3 separate regions of the Homo sapiens genome follow, and all the other regions are linked to region 1. The links are contacts of gene promoters, found by promoter capture Hi-C in blood cells and fetal thymus (Javierre and others, 2016). All regions are on one chromosome and are shown on one strand. The core of a region is centred on a gene start or on the middle of the fragment in contact, and the rest is flanking DNA. Distances in the headings are between cores, read along the strand shown.

Region 1 (4,506 bases), core at 822-3,321:
AAGTTTATAAATTTTAACTTCATTTTTGTCATTTAAAAATTATTAATAATTCTTCAAAGTTTTACCACATGAGCATATTTAGGTATAAAGAGAAAATACTACTGGATAGCTGCTATTATATGTGCAAACTGTCAAAGAAAAATAAAATAAGCCATGTTAATAAATCCTTGTTAATAAGATTTACTGTTTAAAACATGTTTTTTTAATTTGACCTAGAAGAGACAAAAAGGCTACATGTGTAAGAATCTCTATTCAACAGAACTATTTTATATTAGTATTTTCATTCACTTTAATTTTTACAAAAGAATACATATTTAATTTGCTTAATCTCAATTTTACAACATCTGATAATCAACATTTTTTTCTTTCAAAATGTTTTGGCCAATAAATCCTCTTATGCTAAATAATATGTTACTTTTTCTTCAATTCATTTCAGCTATTTCCAAACTATTAATCAAGTGAACTCCTACTAATTGCTTAGTCAGTAGTATTTACATCTGTCATTATTTGCTAATCTTTTGGATTTTAGAAATATTTGTGTTTTTTCCTTTAGCAAAGTAGAATGCAAATACTACACATCTTCTGATTTGTATAGATCCTAGTCCACGATGTAACTTTTCAAATGCAGAAATAAGCCATTTGTTATTTGGATAAATATACTTTTTCTGGGTATATTTTCCTGCAGATAAACTACCATTCAGAAAAGTTTATATTACATTTTTTTCTTGGTAATCTACTCCTATTTGGGGGGGGGGGCTCTTTTTGATATACACTACTGTATCCAATTACTATCAAATTAATATTATAACATGTTGAAATCATGAATATTTTAGTTATCTATATTTTCCCTTGCTAAGTTCAATTTCCCAATGATTAAAAAATGGTACTTTTAGTCTCAAATTTTAAGTTAAATAAACTAGTTGTTCCTGCAAAATGACTGTAATTCAAATGAAAATTGTTAACACGTTTAGAAGAACAAATAAATTACCTTAGTAAAAATTTAGACATTTTCTAGTATTATGTACTGTAATTTTACCTAAACTATGACAGGAAGGCAACAACTGTCACACATTTTCAAAATATATACAGCACTTCCAGTAAGATAGTCGGAACTGCTGGTATTTCTACTCACACTGATCATGTGAGGAATATTATCACGGGCATCATCACCTTAGAAAATAAAAATCAGCTAGCTATGCAAATTTTAAGTATTTTTATACAGTAAATTTTACATATAAGAATAATCTGAGGGAAGGAAACTGATATTTATCTCATTACCCTTGTTGCAGTTGGGTATAAAAACGTCCACCACTCCCATTTTGAATCATTTGCCGTACAGAAAATACAGGACATTTTAATTTCTCATGATGGCAGGTTAGGGAGAGAAAGGCTTGTTATTTCTAAGAGCAAGAAACTACAGTTTTATAGGATTGAACACCTGGAGGCGTAAACATTTTATAAATCACTGAATTCTAATTACATAGTAGTTTATACGCCAGATACAACATACGTCAAAAGCCTATCTTGTTCTAAGCGGGCAGCCATCCACCGGCGTCTACCTACCGAAGCCATTTCTGCTTTTTACCAGCGACGCTGGAACAGTGTTATTGTGGGATATGTTCAGTGTTGAACAGGCTCCCAGGGCACGGCTGTTACTTTGGAGGTTATGCTGGGGTACAGAAGTTAGGCTGGGGCAGGGCCATCCACCTAGGAGGGCCCAGCACAGTCTGGGCAACCACACCGGCGGGCCGTTTTGCTCACAGCCCCACCGCGCCGGGCAGCGTCTGCAGCTGCTGCGTGCGAGACCCAGAGGCTCCGGTCAGCGCGCCGGCCGCAGGGAGTGCGAGCACTTGTGAGCCCCGCGCCGGGCCGGTGAAGTCTGGTGCTGCCGAGCCCGCTTAGAAAGCACGGCCGCGCGCTGTCGGACGCAGGCCCACAGGCCCAGCCGACCCAGGCAGCAATTTTCCTAGCCCCGCCGCCGTTGCCAAGGCGACCGCCGCCGAATGTTCCCGCCGCGGGCTCCGCCCCCCGGCCAATCGGACCGGCGCTCGGTGAAGCCCAGATTCTCTTTGTTCCGCAGCCATTTCAGGCCCCGGACAGGAGGCAGTGCCGCTTCGGCCGAAGGCCCGAGCGCCCGAGGCGTCTGGGATGGTGTGGGACCGGGTAGGTGGCGTGAGGGTGCGCGGCCCCGAACTGCAGGGGCGGGAACGGAGGCTGGGAGCGCCGAGCTGCCTGACGCGCCTACGGGAGAGACGCCGGGCTCGCCCGCTCTCTCGGCGCCTGCCCGGCCGTTTGAAGCCGAGAGGCAGCGGCGGCGCGGTTCTAACCCCAACAGCTGCCCGCCCAGGCGCCCTGCGGGACCCGGGTAGGGAGCAGGCGACGGCGGCTCCTCAAGCGTCCGAGGATCCCGTTAGGGGCGGCAGGAGCCCGTTACAAGGGGCGGGAAGGGAAGGGTCTTACATTCAGGGGAGCGTTTGCCTCGCCTGTTAAGCTGTGGCGTTTGAGGGCCCTTGAGTGCTGCAGTCGGCTGCCCCGGGACGGCTGCCTTTCACTGGTTCTGGGCGCTGGCCGGCGCTGCCCGAGATGGGCCAGTCTTTGTCCCGCCCTGGGCCCCTCTGCCCGGGTCTCCTGCGTCCGCACACAGCGCCCATCGTCCTTACATGCAGCTTGCCGTTCTCTTCCTCCCGGCGGTTCTTTCTCCTTGGGGCCTCTTGGCCTCACGACATGTTTACATAATGTTTGTGACTGTACGAGTTTTGCGTGGGCTTGTGGGTTTTGCCCTTCTACCTCCACTCCCATGCGTACAAGCAACAGGGAACAGCTGCTGAGGAGCAGATTGGCCACCACAATCAAGCTATTTTCGGAATGACTTTCTTTAAAAATGATCGCGTGTTGCTTACTGATTTTAAAAATCAACTGGATTTTGCAAGGATTGCTTAGAGTTTAAGTCTGTTATCTTAATCGCTAATCAGGATGGTCTATCAGTAGATGTAAATGTAGAAATTTGAAATTGGAGGCTATCTACAAATTGATTTTGACAGCTGTATTAAGAAGCTTAATAACTGTCCTTTGAAACAGTAATGACTTAAATGATGAATGTGTAAGTGGTACTTTTTTTACCCTAAAGAAAAGATACTTTTAAAATTGCAAGATGTATGGTGTAATAGGTGTTTGGAAATGAAGGTTGTAAAATGGCTGTCCTGACGTACTACTCACTTTTAGAATAACAAAAGTTCCTGCAGCTTTTTAAGTTTCCCTGTTATATCAAAGCTTTCATGTTAGAGTGGTGAAGAAGCTATGTTTAGTGGAAAAGGGGAAAGTTCCGTTTTTTGGGAAAGGATCTGTTTTCCACTTTCACCTTACCTGGCACCGTAGTTGTTCCTAGAGAAGGCTGTGCCAGGATGAAAATTAGCAACCACAAAAGGGAAACAATAGTTTGTAGGTGCAGATATCTTTTTTAGTCTCTAGCTATGCAGTGCATAAATTTATACTAGCTTGGCAGTACGATTTTTACTTCATGCAATTTAACGTGAGCCTAATGAAGTACTAGTGTTCTGTTTTCTTTTTCCTAAAAGGGGCCGCCACCCTTGATGTGGCTGCATCTTTCTCCTAGTCAGGAATTATTAAATTCCTCCCACTGAAATATCTATAAAAATCTTGTTTGCACTTCTACCTCAACTCTCAGTGGCTTTATTACCATTATATAATGTGAGCAGAATAAGATTTTTGTAAAAATACATGATTCTAGTTGTAAGCTTTTCCAATATCAACATTTCTTATTGTATTCATTGTTTTTATGACTGTAGTTTTGCTTATTTATAATTTTAAAGCCATTCCATGAACTCAGTTTTTCTAAATGTTGTAAATGAGCTACTACATTGAAATGTAAACATCTGTATTTAGAAGAATTTCTTGAATTTTAACCATGTTGGATTCTGCAAATGTTTTTTTAAGAAAAGAAACCTGGTTATAAAGTGACGTCAAACCAAGTGACATAGGTAATGAAATAAATGAATTTATCAAATATAAACTGCAGAGAGGAGCACAGCAGTAAGTGGGGGAGTTCTTTTTATTGGCCAGGGTATAAATTGTGATATTTTTTCCTGAGATTGATATTTGAATACATATTGGTGCTAAAAAGATATCTTCCCCCCTCAAAACAGTTTGGTTTACCAGCAAAAGGATGAGAAAGCTGAGAGAATCAAAGAAACTGATGAGGTTTTCAAAAACAATGGCGAACAATGCCATCCTCAAAGAGGAAGGATCAGAAACAGTGAAATTCCCCTGGAGGTTGAGGATTTTTCTTAGTTGACCCTATTCAGCCATTGCCATGGTAAATCTGTTGAGTGTTGGCAGGTGAAGGAGTCTTCTGGGTTGTACAAGGGATGAGCTTCACAATGGAAGACAGATGTTTGCAAGAGTGGTGCCTTAATCCGTATTGTGTTGCTGTAAAAGAATACCTGAGACTGGGTCATTTATAAAGAGAAGAGGTTTATTATTTAGCTC
Region 2 (4,506 bases), core at 627-3,126, 530 kb before region 1:
TACATTTTCCCATAAGAGAGAAGTATGGGAAATAAATACTCCTTGCTTCTCCCGATGTTACAATCTAGTATAGTCAACATTAAAGCTAAATTTTATTGAGCACTGACCTTCTTTGTCCCAAGACTGTTCTAAGGGCATTATAACGTTATCAATTTCTTGGAGTCTCATAAATACCCTAAAGCACAGGCACTATTTTAACACTCATTTTATGAGGGAGGAAATGGATGGCACATTCGACATTCAAATCCAGGCACTCTGGCTCAAGTCCATACTCTTGTCTACTATACTATACTGTGTCTCAGGTAAAGAGAAAGAAAGAAATATTTTTGACAGAAGACAAAACAAAATAAGTAAGCACCCCTGAATAGGTAAAACAAAATTTTATAGATGGGTCAGAGAGATCACATTCAACCGTGAAAATCAGGGTAAGTTTATGAGTGTAGCAGAATTTGGGACAGGCCTTAAAACACAGGCTGTATTCTGTTAGAAAGAGACAGTGGGGAGGGAAGAGCATAGGCAAGATATGAAAGTAGAAGGCACATTCAGAGAACAGTAGTCCATTCCAACTGGAGTCTGAAAGCACTGTGTAAGTGTGTAAGTCTGTTATTACCTGCTATTATTCAGCAAATGGAGGACTATACTAATCTATACGTATGAGATGCACAAAGTTCTCACTTGAACACATAATTTCAGTGTTTGACTTATCAAAACTCTGCCAAGATTTTTACCAATGAAGACTAATGATTGAGTTTCACCTCTTGGTAGTGTCCATCACTGAACTATGTAACAGCCAGTGCATAATGAATACACTGTTCATGTGCTGTAATGATCTGGTGTTGGAAGACCTAGTTTTAAGTCCCAGCTTTGCCTATTACTAGGTATAAAATGGTGATACTATTTGTCTTAAAATCAGCATTGCTATTAAAAAAACAGAATAGACCTCAAAATGTAAAATCTGCCTGTTCAAAACAAACATACCTGGAAATCTATCATGAAAATGAAAGCAGCCTAGACCACTAAACAGAATTCACATCAAATACTTCTAGCTCCTCAGATGTCCTCTTGCCTAGACACACAGCATCTGGAAATACTCAGGAATTTATTTGCCTTTGGCCTCAAAAACCATGATGCAATCAACTGAAACTTCTGTTCCCATAAATCTCTCCTTGAAGCTTCTGTTTATCTACTCAGCTCTCCCTTAAATATTATACCAGTTTCTGAAACGATCTCTTAATTATTTTCAAATCAAACTGCGTTACACTTAAAACCCTACTGAAGTAGGGTTTATATAATAAATATAAAACTATATTTTAGTTATGCCTTTCTCATTGCCCTGTAGCTATAATTCCTGGTACCTTAATTTGACTTTACAATTATAAAAATAGGCAGGAGAAATATTTTTCAATAAAAGGGGTTTATACTGTAGAAAAAAAAGAACTTGGATACATATTCTTATGTGAAATTTTAGGAGTTTAAGGTTTAATTTACAAATGGTTCTGTAGCTATTAGAACAGATTTACTTTAGCCTTCTCCTTTTAAATCTCATGTATATACAAGGCATCAAAAACATGTGGTTTGTGGGCCTTGCAGGAAAAAGGCAAGTACATATGTATAAAAATTAGTTACCTAGAGGATAAATAAGAGTGGATACCCAACTTCTCATACCACAAAATTTACTAAATATATTCACAAACAAGATAGTAAATGAAGTCTGTCACCTAAATCCAGAAGAGAATAAGAGATCTTCTACCCTTTCTGTTGTTTACTTTTACATCTATTAGTTTTTCTCTTGATATTCATAGTTAAGGCGGCTGGAACTTCAATTTTAAAGTGAATAAAATTCTGCGTGAGAAACTAAACAAAAAGCCAGAGCTACATGCTTTCAAAGTCTGAGGCATCTGGTGATAAAATCTTATCAGTGACATTAAGAAACATTATGTTTTAGCTATGGGAAGTGCCTTGGGAGGCATCCAAGATGATCTGCTCATCTAGAAAGCTGATGTCCAGAGAGTTCACTAACTAGTTCAAAGCTACAGATCAAAGTGGGGACTAAACTGGTCCTAAGACCCCAGTCACCTCTTTCTTCCCATCCTGACTCCTTCAGGGTCTTTTTAGTACCTCCCCCACAAGATAATACATTTTCATTGTTGAATTTCTTTTTATGTTAATTTTTTTCTAGGTTTAATTAATTCTATGTCACACTGTTAGGAGGTTTCAAAATGTTCATTGAGTCTGTATCTTTTGGTATATTACTGAAACTGCTTAGGAAAAAAAACTGACACAAAGAGATACACTGGGCTAGCTGATGAGCTTCTGAACTTGAAGTCAGGCCTCATCCACAGCTGGAGCTTGGACTTGTCACATGGCTCCAAGGGACTCACTTAGTCTATCCAGGTTGCAATTTCAGATTCCGGAAGTTGGCAGGACTTCAGAGGTCATCTGGTCTAAAATTTTCCAACTAGTGCCAATACACCAGGAAGACCCAATGGGTATGTTTTGGCAATTGTTCTTTCTCCAAAGGTCTGTGGCCAGTTCCTGTCAAACAGTCCAAGTATGGTCAAGTAGGCAAGATATGATCCAGCAAGCTTAGAAAGAAATGTGTACGTACAAAAAAAAAAGGCAAAAGAAAAACTCACCCTCTTGCTGCCTTCTAAATCTGCTTCCAATTCAATACTTCTATCATGTACAAGCCACTTTCCCACTGAGGTTCAATTTTCAGTTCATTTTTGACTCTCCTTGTTTTCTGTCTCTACATTCAACCTGCCATTAATCCTGCTGATCCAATTTTTTCCCTCCTATGTACATTTCTCTCTTTATTTCCACTGTCTACTACCACAGGACAGGTCTTTTTTCTCTATATGCATAGACAATTTCCTTATAACATTTACCAATTTTAATAAAAAATTTACCCTGTTATAAATCTTTCTGAAATACTTTTATTATGATATATACTTCTTAAGAATCTGCAGATGACTATCTTGAGGATCTTTTAAAAAATATTTTTTCAGGCTAGGTGTGGTGGCTCATGCCTATAATCCCAGCACTTTGGGAGGCCGAGGCAGGTGGATTGCTTGAGTCCAGGAGTTCAAGACCAGCCTGGGCAACATTGTGAGACCCCATCTCTAAAAAAAAAAAAAAAAACACCACCAAAAAGGCCAGGCATGGTGGCATACGCCTAAAGTCCTAGCTACCTGGGAGGCTGAGGTAGGACAATTGCCTGAGCCTGGGAAGTTGAGGGTACAGTGAGCTAAGATCCTGCCACTGCATGCCAGCCTGGGCAACAGAGTGAGACCCTGTCTTTAAATTAAAAAAAAAAAAAAAATTTGGTTAATTTCCTTCTGTGTGTGTGTGTGAGAGAGAGAGATGGAAAAAGAGAAGGGGGGAGGGAAGGGAAGGGAAGAAATGAAAAATATGTATTTTTTGAATAAGTAATATACACCCATGATATAAAATTCAAAAGTTACAAGAGACAATTCAATGAGAAGTCATCCAGGTTTCTTCCCTAAAAGAAACCAATGTTACCAGTTTTTGTGTGTATCATTCCAGAGATATTTTATGTACACACATACATATATACACATAAGCATCAAAGCACATGTATACATATTACACATAAACCACAGTGGCTACATCACACACTAAGTCCTACTCTTGTTTTTTTCACTTAATACATTTCACAATTTATTCAATAGGAAATACAAATAAAGCTTCCTCATTCTTTTCAATCACTGCACAGTATTCCACTGTACAGCTGTAGAATAATTAAACAGGCTTCTATTGATGGACGTAATCTTTTACTTTTTGCAATGGACATTTTTGGCATGAATATGAGTGTATCAGGAGGTTAAATTCCTAGAGGTGGAATTATTGGGCCAGAGGGTATTGTACTTATAATTTTGACAGATGCTGCCAAAGTTCTATCTATACAAGTTGTACCGATTTATATATCCACTAGCAATGTATGATAATGACAGATTTTGAACCCTCCCTTCTCTCCTGCCAACATTCTATTCCCTCTCTAATCTGCCTTCCTTATTTCTCATTATTCCCCAACAAACCCTGATCTCTCTGGTTAAGGCAGTTTCCATAAAGCTAGTTCTCACTTCCTCCTTCTAACTCCAGCTGTACGATTTGTTCCATCTTGAACACTTGCTCCTGTTTCCTCTACTCATCTAACCTTCAAGGCTATCTTAAGTTCTACCTCTTTTATAAATGTTTGCTGATAACAACATCAATCCTTCTTCTAGCCTGCTCAAAACATGTTTTCTCTAAAACTTACATTTTGTTACATAAATTCAGTAAATTTATCTACTTATCATATCCTGGATTTGTGTTGATTTTGAATTGTTTCACGTATCTAATGATCTTCAACCATCTAATAATCTTTTTTTGGGAGGGGGACAGGGTCTTGCTCTAGTACTCAGGCTGGAGTGCAGTGGCTCGATCATAGCTCATTGTAGCCTTGAACTTCTGGAATCAGCCTCCTAAGTAGTTAGGACAACAAGG
Region 3 (4,506 bases), core at 1,493-3,992, 510 kb before region 1:
TACGATATGAAAGCAATTAGCTTTTCTTATGACTATCTTAAAGGGATTGAAGCCAAGTGATTAAAGCAAAATAAAAACAAAAAAGTCCTTAAACCCCCTTCACACTAAGGCAACTTAATAGCATTAAATCTACTTGCTTACAGATGTTAAATGTCTCTCTCATAATAGCAAATCTTTTGATCATTTCATAATGAAGGCTTCTGTGTTTAGATGAGAGGCAATATGAGAAATTACCTCCCTCTACCTGAAATTTACAATTTAACTTAAAATAGCAAGATCAGGATCTATGGCCTAATTAAAATGAAAAACCCATCATTTCTTTGTGGGTTTCACATCATGCACAATGTATAACCAAACTCTGGAATAAGGTGGCTTCACTGATCACCTCTGTAGTGTGGTAACTCAAGATTGCATGTGAATCCTTCGCACCAAGGCATCTTTAGTCAAGTGAAATTGGCTGGAGCCTCAGAAAAGGTAACAGCTGCAAAGCCAGCATCTAATGAATAACATTTGCATTTTCCAAGTCAGAGAAAGGTTTGCTGCTAAATATATCATGTGGCCAATCACCTCACAGTATAGCACTGCCGTGATGAATGAGGCAGAAAACTGCACAGAGCAGGGACGGCCAGGAAAGCTGGGACAGCTGCGGCGTGCAGAGGGCCAGCGCCACAGGCTTCTGGACTGTGGGCTTCCACAGTCAAAATCCCACCTCATGTTTCAGTGAGGGGCCAGCAGATGCCCAGGTTTTGTTCAAAGAGATGTGCCAAAGAAGATACTTTTTTGCTTGCTATTCAGCTCCTCAGGAATACATACTGTGGCAGATGGTTGTGGACAACAGACTATATGGGAAAATGGATCTGAAATTTGAATTCTTCATTTAACAAAACTTGAAGCTAGACAGACAATGTGGAAGTATGTCCAGAAAATAAAATGTATACTAAAAATGCCCTTCCCATTTGAAGAAAGCAATACTATTAACGATCTCAGAATATACAAGATTGTATTGAGAACCCTGCACTATTCCCAGTAAGAGTGCAATGGCCCACAAGCCTGGGTGAGGATTCAGATTGCCTGAGGGGCTTTAAAACTTCAGATTCCTAGGATTCTTTTCACCCAGAGGGAGACTCTAATTCCCTGGGTTTGAGGTAGCACGAGAGACTTAAACAATAGCCCCAGAAGATTGTAGCCAATCAAGCACGTCAGTTATGTTTGGGAGCAACCATGGGAGGGAACACAAAAGAAGTCTTAGATGTTGCTCCTAAGCTCAAAGAAGATACTGAATAGGAATTCCATTGCTGGAATAAAATGAATTAAATATCTTTAAAAAATTCCTCCTACTATAAAAATAAAACAAAATATCAATTTTCCCCCAAATATATGACTGAGCTTTCAAGAAGGTAGATGTAACTGTCAGAGGCCAAAGGCAAGATGGAAACATGAACTTGGAGTGTTTAGAGGAGCAGTCCCTTTGAGGGGAGCAGTCCTTTTGAGAGCATGTGATGATCTACAGTGATGGAGAGCTTTAGTTTCAGTGACTTATGGGGACAGAGGATAAAACCAATACTTGTAAGATGAGAAGCTTGTTCAGAGATCCTCAGGTAAAGCCAGGACCACCTAAGGGAACTACACCTGAAGTGAAAAGGTAAAACTTATCACTACAATAATGCACCCTAAAAAGTAAACAACCGGGACACTTGTCCCCTGAAGATTATAAACTACAAGTCAGCCCTCATGCCTCTTTGGGGATTTAATCCACTCTTCTTTTGTGATCCAAAATATACCAAGCTGAGAATTTTGTTTGAAGAGTTGACTTCACTATATAAAATTCTAAAAATTGTGAACTATTCTATAGAAACAAAAAAGCATATCCATGGTTGCCTGGGAATTTGGGGTATAGGGCCAGAAGCGGAAGGAGAAAAGGGTTAAAGAATAGGAGAAAACTTTGGCAGGTGACACATATGCTCATTATCTTGATCATGGAGATGACTTTATGGACATATACACCTGTACATTGGTCAAAACTGATCAAATTGTACATTTAAATATACATAGTTTATTTTATGTGAAGAATACCTCATCAAAGCTGTAAAAAGTAAACAATGAATAAGTTAAAAAGCAGGTTAGACACAGGTGAAGTGAGAGTGAACTGAAAGGCAGATAATTACACAGAATGCTGCAAAGATAAAAATGAGAACTGTAAAAGAGCAAAGATATAGAAATATGAATAAGAATGTATGATGAGACAATGATGAGAATTTTTTAGAATTGATAAAAAATATAGGTTTCTAGATTCAGGATATGTATACAATCTCAAGTCAAAAAAGTAAAATTATTATTTCAAAAACGATGAATGAGAGGATCTCAAAAGTGGCCAGAAAGAAAAGAGAAATTACAAAGAAAGAAACAACTATACTAACAGGTGTTTTCTCAATAGGAATGATAAAATCCAGAAAATAGAATAAAATGTTCAAAATGTTGCAAGTATAAACTATCAACCTAAAATTGCATATCTAGCAAGATTATCTTTAAAAAATAAGGGCAAAATATGGGTATGCTGGCATGTGCTTGTAGACCCAGCTACTCAGGAGGCTGAGGTGGGAGGATCACTTAAGCCCAGGAGTTGGAGGCCAGTGTGGGCAACACAGCAAGACCTCATCTCAAAAAAAAAAAAAAAAAAAAAAAGATAAGGGCGAAATGAAGACATTTTTGGACAAACAAAAACAGAAAATGTATTAGCAACAAATACTAAAGGAAATTTTTAGAACTCAATAAAATTGGTTAAATTGGGGGGGAACTGACTGTTTAAAATAATGTTATATGTGTTTTAAAGGATAAAACTTTATTATTAGACAAGAGCATATGGTTAGATGTGTGTGTGTGGACCTAAGGTGTCCTAAAGGATAGTAGAGTGTGATGAGCATTACAATTTAAGCTAGATATGCATTTTAGAAGTTAAAGGGCAACAATCTCTAAAAAAGTAGAGGATATAATCTCCAGACCAGTGGAGGGGAAAAAAACGTAAAAAACAAAAACAATCCAAAAGTAAAAATCAATCCAAAAATAAAAAATAAAGAAAAAAAAGAAAGATGAAACCAATCACAAAATGTGACAGAAATAAATCCAATTATATTGGTAATCATGAAATGATAATGTAAATAGACGAAATTTTCTAGTTAAAAGATAATGATTGTCAGATTGGTTAAAAATATAAAAGCTAGCTATATAAATCATATAAACACAGAAGAGTTGAAAATTATTAAAAACACACTAGGAAGCCAAAATAAAGCTGGTACAGTTGTATTAATATCAGACACAATAGATTACAGGCAAAAAGCAGTTTTATAGATTATGTGGGTCACTACATAATGACCAAAAATTCATTTTGCCAAGATAATTTTAACCTGGTGCACACCAAAGTAACACAGCTTCACAGTACATAACCACAAAATCTGTAGTACAGATGTGTTGAAAAACAAGCCTCTTAAAAAAGAGTGTGGTCTCTGGGGCAAAGTTGTGATAATGAAGGTCACTGAAGAAAAATATGAATCCTTTATTGAATCCTTCTAGCTTCAGGTGAGAAATGGTTTCAGTTTTTCTTTTCTACATAACTGCACATTACTGTTAACCTTTCAGGCAACACTAAACTCTTTCTGGGCTTATGGTCATCTGCATACCTTACCTAATTTATATAATAAAGAAACAGGTACAGATTATTATTGTCCTTCCTAGAAGAACTGATCTTGAAAAATACAGGCTGAAACTGTTTTTGTTTCCCACATTTTAAAAGAAAAACGAGGACACATGACATATATCATGCATTGAATATACAGAAGGAAGTATGGAAAACTAGCCTAGCAACCAATTTGGACATAGATTTTTAGACTTCCTTCTATTTGTCTGTCACCAGAAGCTTTAACATAAATAAATCCAATAAAGGAAAAACATGAAATCAAGCTTTGTGTACATATATATTAATGAGACTAAAGAACGGTGATGTGCACAAGTCAGACCCATCTCTAGAACTTGGCAAATATGGAAACTGGAAAATGAATAGATGCCACAGAGATGCAAATACAGAACTGACAAAAGTTAAGAAAGCAGACTTCAGAAAATCTCCATCAGGCCTCAAGAGCAGGATCTGAAATATTCATGCAAAAAGCCAAAGGCCTCTACAGCTGAAATGACACAGCAAAACTAAATCTCAGCTAAAATGGAAGAAGTGTCTGTAAGAGACAGACCTGAATGCAAATGTGTCAAGGAAATACTCTTTGGATTCAAAAAGGAGGTTCTCCAAAAACAAACCAACAGAAAACAAACCAACAAACCAAGAGAAACCAACACAAACAAGCAAAACAGTAACCCAAACCAAAATGTGTCCTATACTTTGTGATGTGAAAAATCACAAATAAAATATTTAATCCAGTAGGGCTCATGAATCCTGAATTCAGCTCAAGTCACCTGAGTGCTCGCTCCTTGTCAGAAAGACTCAAGAAAACTTCCTCTCAT

The links. The method cuts DNA at HindIII sites, captures the fragments that hold promoters and counts their contacts. A CHiCAGO score of 5 or more calls a contact.
Region 2: a contact is called between a fragment that was not itself captured here and the fragment with the promoter of TNPO1 in region 1, in 1 of 17 cell types (M0 macrophages). The highest score is 6.1, in M0 macrophages.
Region 3: a contact is called between a fragment that was not itself captured here and the fragment with the promoter of TNPO1 in region 1, in 6 of 17 cell types (activated CD4 T cells, monocytes, naive CD4 T cells and 3 more). The highest score is 7.0, in activated CD4 T cells.

What each region holds. Positions count from the first base shown.
Region 1 is chr5:72,814,590-72,819,095 of GRCh38, forward strand. It overlaps TNPO1 (transportin 1), which reads left to right and starts at 2,072. Exons shown (of 25, transcript NM_002270.4): 1 at 2,072-2,163. The coding sequence starts at 2,149. It overlaps TNPO1-DT (TNPO1 divergent transcript), which reads right to left and starts at 1,959. Exons shown (of 9, transcript NR_186518.1): 1 at 1,564-1,959. RefSeq lists enhancers at 1,639-1,718, 2,799-2,848 and silencers at 1,979-2,078, 2,119-2,338. The HindIII fragment of the contact is 3,194 bases long and covers 1-3,052 here.
Region 2 is chr5:72,281,124-72,285,629 of GRCh38, forward strand. All of the region lies in intron 4 of MRPS27 (mitochondrial ribosomal protein S27), which reads right to left. LOC107986422 (a long non-coding RNA gene) reads right to left here. Exons shown (of 2, transcript XR_001742742.2): 2 at 1-2,535. Among named protein-coding and RNA genes, the nearest start is that of MRPS27, 37 kb to the right of the region's middle. The HindIII fragment of the contact is 1,413 bases long and covers 1,171-2,583 here.
Region 3 is chr5:72,301,224-72,305,729 of GRCh38, forward strand. The region is part of intron 2 of MRPS27 (mitochondrial ribosomal protein S27); the gene reads right to left. Among named protein-coding and RNA genes, the nearest start is that of MRPS27, 17 kb to the right of the region's middle. RefSeq lists enhancers at 109-1,064, 624-853. The HindIII fragment of the contact is 2,331 bases long and covers 1,578-3,908 here.